Regions from separate parts of the Homo sapiens genome. Here region 1 is linked to region 2. The links are contacts of gene promoters, found by promoter capture Hi-C in human tissues and cell types (Jung and others, 2019). All regions are on one chromosome and are shown on one strand. Each heading gives the region's core, a stretch centred on a gene start or on the middle of the fragment in contact. The rest is flanking DNA. Distances are from core to core; before and after follow the strand shown.

The links. The method cuts DNA at HindIII sites, captures the fragments that hold promoters and counts their contacts. A contact is called where the count stands out against the background at its distance.
Region 1: a contact is called between a fragment that was not itself captured here and the fragment with the promoter of MECOM in region 2, in 1 of the 25 tissues and cell types used here (lymphoblastoid cells).

The regions. Positions count from the first base shown.
Region 1 is chr3:169,493,158-169,497,537 of GRCh38, forward strand. All of the region lies in intron 1 of MECOM (MDS1 and EVI1 complex locus), which reads right to left. Among named protein-coding and RNA genes, the nearest start is that of MECOM-AS1, 47 kb to the left of the region's middle. The HindIII fragment of the contact is 4,985 bases long and covers 1-4,380 here.
Region 2 is chr3:169,661,859-169,666,081 of GRCh38, forward strand. MECOM (MDS1 and EVI1 complex locus) reads right to left here and starts at 1,854. Exons shown (of 17, transcript NM_004991.4): 1 at 1,478-1,854. The coding sequence starts at 1,514. RefSeq lists a silencer at 746-845. The HindIII fragment of the contact is 10,305 bases long and covers 1-4,223 here.

The DNA of each region.
Region 1 (4,380 bases), core at 784-3,283, 170 kb before region 2:
ATTTATTCGTTCAAAAAGATACTTGAACATTTGCTGGGTACCAAGCACTGGGGCTCAAGAACAGAACTCACCGTTAATATGGTTTATTTGCAAATATGGTTTATTTGATCAAGTAGCATGTCTCATAAAACTTGATTCTAAATACCTGTGCAACACTGTCATTTTATATTCCTCATCTTCAAAAGGAATAATGAAGCTTTAATCTCTTGCAAAACCTGTATGGTTCTTCTCCCTTCTCAGATAGCACCACGAGCTCCCACCAGTAACAAAACCACATTGCTGCCTCCTTCACTTTGCAGTTCCCTTAGAATCTAACGAGGAACACCACACTCTGCTTTGAACACTGTCTTACATACATATATATGTATGTATGTAAGACATACAGACATATGTATTTTTATATATACACATATGTATACATATATATATATATTTCACACATACACTGGGTGTATATTTATATACTGGGTAACTGAAGTTCCTCAGATGGGAAATGATTTAATCTGTAGCAACGTCTGACTCTGCATATAATGCTGTGTGAAACAGAAACAGCCCTGACACTTTATGAATAGGGAAATGAGAGAGCCTATTGAAGAAAGCTTGACAGCAAGAATGAAAGAATGAAGATTCAACTTAAGCTGTTGAAAGCCTAACAAGATAAAGGGCAGGAGAGTCTCCTTAAATGTGATGAAATAAGGCCTGAAGGGAAGGAACCATAGAGAGATTGACGAGTACACACTTTGAAACAGAAGATGAGTGTGTTCAACCTGACAGTAACGTGGTTAAATTAATCAAAGTACCAATAACCTTAAACGGTAGGAAAGAATACAGATTTATGCAGCAATCATCTTTGATGGTTGGTGTGAAATTTGAGCTAGATCAAAGAGGTAGAGCTTTTGAGGGAAAATAATTGTTATGATTATACAGCCTTCTCATAACATGTAAACATTACACTGACCATTTCACCGTCTTCTCTGCTTGCCTTGTGTTTTATTTCCTCCACCTTAATATTTTAAAACAGGGGACAATCTCAGTTTTTATTACCCAAAGGAAACACCTAATTTTAAGTGATGTTGCTCTTGTGATTTTTACTGATAAATTTTTGAGAGGGAATATTTTCAGAGAGTAAACTTATTGGTAAAACTAACAAGTTGACAGTTCACACTGCCCAGTTCTTCCTCTCTGGCTCCCAAGGGCGTAAGGCAGCCCAAATACCAAGCCCGCTCTTTGCCTTACTCTTGATTCATGTTGCTATGCTTTGCAAAACTGCTACCCAAGAAGTCAGATGCCACAAGTTCTAACTGTTGAGAATACAATTAAAGCAAGGAAAAGTTAAAAAGATCAAACTATTCTCAAGGTGTAAGCATTGAAATACATTAGCTATAAGCTAACTAAAATGGCCAACTAATCAAAACACCCCATTGAATACACTCATCACCAAAGTTTTATTATACACCACTAAGATCTTCCTGCTTTCACCTATCTGTATTAACTAATCGAGAGCACAATCTTTTAAAGCACTTATTCTTCAAGGGAAGGTAGAGGACAGTGAGGGACCCTGGAGCATCTGTATTTTGTAAAAGCTCCCAGTGTGGTGATTCTGATTCATCTTTCTACTCCAAACTTCCAACTGAGAGTCACTGCCTTCATGAGAAGAAATCTTTTAGTTATCTATTAAACTGTTTCAGCCATGGTGCCATTCACCTTCATCCTTATCATTAAAAATCAATAATGATGATCCAAGGAATGGAAGAGAGTCAATAAATGACACTAGTGAGGATGGAGAGGAGAATCGTGTTTGAAATTCACATCTAGCTTAAATCTTCCCTGTTGTAGGCTAGATCCTTTTCTCCTTCTTGGAAGACATTTGGTCACCATGCTTCTCTTAATAGTCCTTCATACAGTTGAGGACAGTTATTAAGTCACCTCTAAACCTTCTCAATACCGGTAATCCTGATTCCATTCATCTTTTTTCATCAGTGCTATTTTCCAACCCGTTAATCATTTTCATTGCTCTCCCCTGGACCCTATCCAAGTTCTCCACGTATCTTTAACCTTCTGTGAATTATGTGACCGGTTTATAGCTTTGATAAGCCTGGGTAGTGAAAAAGGTAGAATCTCATCACAACAGACTATAATTGTATGTGGGGGAGGACAGGGATGGAGCAGCAGATGGTTCAATTGTACAGAAAGTTTCACCACAAATATGATATTAATTTAAGTTTTTATTCTTTGATAATTATTTCTAAACACACCATATTATAATATTCTGAGCTACAATTAGAGTCTGTATTTTACACACCTGTCTTTTTAGTGTGAACCTGTGTCTGGCCTGGTTCTTTTGCATAATAGAAGAGACTATATTTTTCGAAAGAATGCTTGTTTCTTAGTTGAAACAACTTTTAATTACAAAGAAGTACTATTCATAACACCTCTAAGAAATGGAGAGACTAGCATATTTTCATATTCCAATACTCATTCTTTCCATGGCTTTTCCAAATGAGGCTAAATGGCCCAAACCTGAATATACTGGTAATTTGGACACTGGCCTCACTATCAAAACTATGAACCAGTCACTCACAAAAGCTCTTCAGTTTCAAAGCCATTAGTCACATTGTACTTACAGAAGGCAGCATGGCACAGTGATGTTAATTGATGGCTGGCCGCTTACTAGCTGAAAACTTTCAGCAGGTTGGGGTTGTCCTTTCCTCTTCTTTTAGAATAGATAATAATAGAGCTGTGTCATAAGACTGATGTGAGGATCTCATGAGCTATACCTGTAAAGTCTTCAAAACAGTGCCTGACACATAGTAAGCATAACGACCCTACCAGTAAAAGGGTCGACTCCAACTAGAAGTCACAAATATGGAGAACAAATGAGGACATGCAAAGCTTTTCTCTTGGATCTGCATTTAGGATATGGGAGCCTCCTCAAACAAGAAAAAGCCCTGTTGTTATGGGGAAATTGGAAGCAAAGAAAATTCTGCAGTGGCCAGTGGCAGAATTTCTCACCATTGAAAACATATTAGGGATGGGCAGAGTCTATCAGGAGTTCACTGGAATTCAGTGGCTAGCCAGTTGCCTCTATAAGCCTTAAAGATTCCCTTGAAGACAGACAATACACCCGTCTTTGGAAACATATTCTCATGTTAGAACCAAACGTGCATATGGAAATTATTATCCCTTAGCTAAGAGCTTTTGTTTTAAAACCCTTGTGGTGTTTGTAACCTAAAAGAGGGATTTCCTCAAGTTTTCTAAAACTGCCTCATTTTTTTTAAGAATCACCATGATCCATACCTCATTTGAGATCAAGTGAATCGTCAAACTAATGTGTTTTTTCAGGAAGCTAATTCTGTGACTTCCTTAAAGAGAGGGTTGCTCTTCCCAAGGGTTATCGGCAAGCCACTGCTCTGGCTCCTTGTGCCAGTTGTTCTTCCTGACTGGCCATTTCCCCTCTGGCTGGAGATAACCCTGCAATGACTTCAAATTCTTTCGTTCAGTATCTGATTCCATCTCCATCATAAAGCCTTCCTCAGAGCATGGTTGGACCTAAGCATTTCCACGTCTTAGTTCATTCCCAAGATCCCAAGTTGACTTTTGCTTGAACTTCAGTGGAAAATCCAAATCATGTGAAAATCAAAAAGAAAATAATGGCTCTTTCTTGATTCTATTTTCTAAACATATGGTAATGAACAATAAATGTTTACAGGTAGCTGTGATGGCTACAGAAAAATTTTCTTTGGGACCCCCATAAAATAGATTATATTCAGTAAACACAGCCAAGCATGCATAAACTTTAAGAAAGATTTTAGCCTTCTATCCATTCAAACTATTACCCTATTTCTTCCCTCTTTATTGCTACCATTCCTTCTGAAAAAGAGTTTATAAATTCATAACACATTAAAATGAGCAGACTCTTTAGTTCCTTAATCCTAGCAGTCTGATTTAGTAATTTCTTTAATGGCAATATTATTCTCCCCATGCCACAGTTCATATTTGACTTCTCTTGACTCCTTGCTTCCCACTTACTATCAGCAACCAAGTCCTGCTTATTCTTACCTTATTATATTGTTCTTTCTATCCCTATTGCCACAACCTACTTCAGGTCCTTATCATTTACTCCCAATGCTTCTTTTGCAATAGCCCACTAACTAGCTCTCTAATTCTTCAATTTTTCTCTTTTTCTTTTTCTTTTTTTTTTCTTTTGAGATGGAGTCTTACTCTGTTGCCCAGGCTGGAGTGCAGTAGTGTGATCTCAGCTCACTGCAACCTCTGCCTCCTGGGTTCAAGTGATTCTCCCGCCTCAGCCTCCCAAGTAGCTGGAATTACAGGTGCCTGCCACCAGGCCCGGCTAATTTTTTTTCTTTTACTGGTATTTTT
Region 2 (4,223 bases), core at 604-3,103:
CGTTCCGTAAACAACACAATTAGAGAGTTTTGTTTTCGGCGAGTGCGAGTGTGGGAGAGAGAACCGCGGCCTGTCCACTCCCGAGGCAGCTCCAGCCCCGCCTATTGACACCTCAAGGAAGAGCGCTCCCAGCCGCTCCGGGGCTCAGTGTCCCTGAGTCCCCTTCAACTCGAAGTAGAAGCATTTGGACAAACGCAGTCCTGTCGTCTACAGTCCTGGCGGAGCATCACACCGTGTGGGAAAGTGTGGGCCCCGCCGGCAAAGCCAGGCGAGTCATCCAACACTTTTGCTGTAAGAGTGGGGGATGGGACTCCCACCGCCCCCTCCCCAAACCCCTTAGCCCACATCCCGCCAGACCAAGGCCGCTCCGCGCCGGGCAGGCAGGGGGCGCCGGGGAGGGTTATTGACCCTGGACCCAGGCTGCACCCAGACGAAGCGCCGGAGGCTGCGCTGCGCCCTCTCCGCGGCCCAACGCTCTGGCAGCCCGCCCCCTGGGGTTTGCTCGGCGCCCAGCAAGCCCGAGGTGCGCGGGTCGCAGCGCGCCCTCTCTGCCTCCTGCTCCTAGGCTGCCGCCGCTGGCTGTGTGCCCTCCACTCCCGGCTCTCCGAGCGCTCGCTGGGCCTCTTCTCTCCCCACGTCCGAGCGCTCGCTGGGCCTCTTTCCTCCCCACCTGCGCGTGGCTGTGCGGAGCCGGTAGCTCTGCTCTGCCCGTGCCCCCGCCCCCACCCCGCGATCACAGCCCCCACCTTGGTGTCCCCTACTCCCCGCCGCAGTCCTCCCGCCGCGCAGCGCCGCGCCGGAGAGCATGGCCGAGCGCACAGCGCCCACTACCGCAGCCGCGGCTCGGCGCAGTCCACCCGCCCGCCCGCGCAACTTCCAGCGGCCGCCTCGCAACTTTTCCCAAGTCCACCACAGCCGCCCGCCGCCGCCGCCACTGTGGCTCCCTCTGAGCCGCCTACCCTACCCAAACCCCAGAAACAAACCGAGGCTCGAAAAGGCTCCCTTCTCCTGCCGGCCCCCCATCCCCCGCGCCCCCCTCCTCCCACACCCGGGACTAGCTGGTTGGCCAGAGGCAACTCTCCCCCGCCTGGGGGGAAGGGGAGGGGAGGGGGAGACTTTCTCCTCTTCTCTTCCCCCCCACCCCACCCCTTCGCGCTCACTCTCGCGCTCTCTCCTCCCTCCCACCCCTAGTCTTTGCTGCCCCCACCCCCACCCCCACCCCGGGGTTGCCACAGCTGGTCGGTGCGCGGGACTGAGGGCTGCCCAGGCTCCTCCGGCGCCCAACCCGGGAGCGAGAGCGCGGGCGACCGGGAGCAGAGACTGGAACCGGCAGGTTGCTGGGGCTGCGCTCCGCCTGCCCTCCACCCGGGGCCCCGGCGCAAGAGGCAGCCCGCGCTCCCTCCCGGAGCGCTAGAGACAGATATGCAAGATGGCAGAGGAGGGGGAAAAGCCAATAGAAAAGGGATATTGCACCTACTTGTGGCCAGTTTCCTTGCCCTGCCTTTGGATCTCATGCTGTGCCCAGTCCTGCAGCCGCTGGTGTGTGGTTGGGGCTTTTTTTTCTTGGATCCTTTCCTTCTTTTGCTCTCCCTCTCGCTCCCTCCCTCTCTCTCCTGTCTCTCTCTCTCTCTCTCTCTCTCTCTCTCTCTCTCTCTCTCTCTCTCTCTCTCTCCCTCCCTCCTGTTTCTCTCCTGTTTCTCTCTCTCTTCCACACACTCACTCTCTGTATTTTCTTCTTTCACTCTCTCTCCCTCCCTCTCTCCCTTTCTCTCAATCCACACTCGCTATCTCTCCAGCATTGTCAGTTTGGACACCTTCGCACATGCGCGCTAGACGCCCCTCCAACATCTCAGCGCCGCCAAAAAAAGTTTGGAGCGATTTATCACTTTGATTTGGAGATCTTGTCAGATGGCAATCGCCGAGGAGGCGGAGAAAGGGAGCCGCGGGGAGGGCGGCGGGGGGCGGGGAGCGAACGCAGGGAGCCAGAGGGGAGCAGACACCTCGCCCAAAAAAAGGGGAGGGGGGAATTGAAAAGGCTTGGGCAGAGGATTGATTCCATGTTAGAATCGCCAACAAGCTTGTATCATGATTATTGTTATTGTTTTTCCCACCATAAATTGCAGACATTTTTCTATACCATCTACGAGGGAAGCAAGAAGCCAGGGGGGAAAAAAACTTTAAAAACATTTTTTAAAAACCCTTCTCCTGTTAAAGAACTAGAAGGGCTGGACCCTCGGCTAATAATCCAGGAGAAAGTGAGAATCATCCTGAACTTGAGAAATCTACTGCTGCCGCTGCTACTGCTACTGAAGCTATTGCAGCTTCCGCTTTCAGGGTTGTAAGCAGAATAAATAACTGGTTTTTTCCTCGATTTTAGCTGTAATACCAATGCTTGCTGCCATCCTTGGGACATTTCAGTATTCTTTCCCTACCAAGTAGTAATGATCACCCTTGATTCCCGGGTCCGGGCCGGCGCTGGCATTTGACATCCAAAGACCTCCTGCTTTCTCAGAGGTCGGCTGTCACCTTCCGGCCTCCCCCACTGCTGCCCCGGTCGCCTCCCGATGCAGCTCTGCTTGCCTGCCATTTTCACTCACTCGCTTAAACCTACAACCTCGGGGTCAAAAGAAAGAGGAGTAGGGAGGAAAATCACACACTCTTAAAAAAATACATTGTTGAAATTTCCTTTAATTACAGGATTTACCAATGAAGTGCCACTCAGAAATGGGAATTCCTAAAGGGGCTAGCTGTGTACAAGGTATGAATCAATCCCAACTAGGTATAGATTTTCTTTTGGTACAACCTTCTTGCATTAAACAGTTTTGTTCAATACCTTCCATGTGCTATTTATGTCCCCATTAATATCTGTTGCAAATCCTGCCAGACACCATAAAAGAAAATTACAATCTTTTCAGTCTCCGTGCTGCAACAATACATCCTTGATGTTCAAGTTAAAGGAAAAGAAAAGCAGGTCCTGGGCATGAGTTTGGCAAAGGCTGTGGAGGGAAAGGGGAATCATTGAGAATGCCCAGTCGTACCTGTTGGTATTTATTATCAAATCTAGGACTGCAGACATGAGAGAGCAAATAACAAGGTTCAACCCCAAAGGGTATCAATGGCCTGCAAATCTCTTTATTCAAGAGAATCAAAGTTCAAAGAATTTGTCCTTGTTAAGGATGCCTACCATTTTCCTTTATCCAGAGCTGTGTAATTCTGGGGGCATTTGGCTGTAAGATAGAGGTCCCTGGAGAACCAAGCTACAGGTCTCAAGGGAGACAGATGTATAAGGTTGAAATGTGAGGAAGGGAAGTAGGAAGGTAAAGGAGGGAATTACTCACAACAGGAGTAAAACAACTTCCAAAAGAGAAGGCTCTAGTGCCCACACGCGTGGGCACAAGAGAACTCTATTATCCACTCTGAATTAAAGAGGCACCTGGGTTTTTTTCCAGACCTAGAATTCCCGCTGTCCTGTGCATAAAGGTGAGTGTGCTAACACATTTGGTGTGTGCAAAAGCACCAGCCATTCCAACATTCTGTTAGGTTCACACAGGTCTTTGACTCTGAAACTTCCCCCAAAATGTGACTCCACCAGCTTCCCTCAGTTTAGATGGAGAGGTGCCTACCCTCTGACCAGCAAATGTCCTCCGAGGAAACGGAGAAATGGGTCTTGAGAGGCTTTGGAAGGGGGGACAAAATCTCTAGGGAGAGACAAACACTAGGCTGACTGGCAAGAAGTTCATAAGGCTGCTTCTGATCGGTGTAAGAGACTCTCTAGGGACCATCCCCTAGGCCAGGGGACAGACCAGCAGCACCTGAAGATCCCAGCTGTCAAAATCTAGGTCTTGTCCCTCCAATCCTCACCTTCCCTGCCAGGCACCCCAGGGGTGGCTGAGCACCTTGCCTTGGTGCCCAACCGCCAAGGTAGCTTAAAAAAAAAAAAGAAAGAGAAGAAAAGAAAAAAGAAAAGAACCGCCATCCTCCCCTCCACTCCTCCGGCTAATCCCTTTCACCTCATCCCCAGGGGGTCTGTCTATGTCTAGGTTCCCTTGGAGACGGGAGGTTAAGAGGGGTGCAAGAAATGTTCCTAGGAAAGGAGGGGACCAAGGTACCAAACTCTGAGATTAAATGCAAGACCCACATGTGAAGCTGAGCTTGCTGTTGCTGCTGAGAAATTATAAACCACGTGGAGGGTTGGGGAGGTAGGGGGTGGGTTCTGTGAGGGG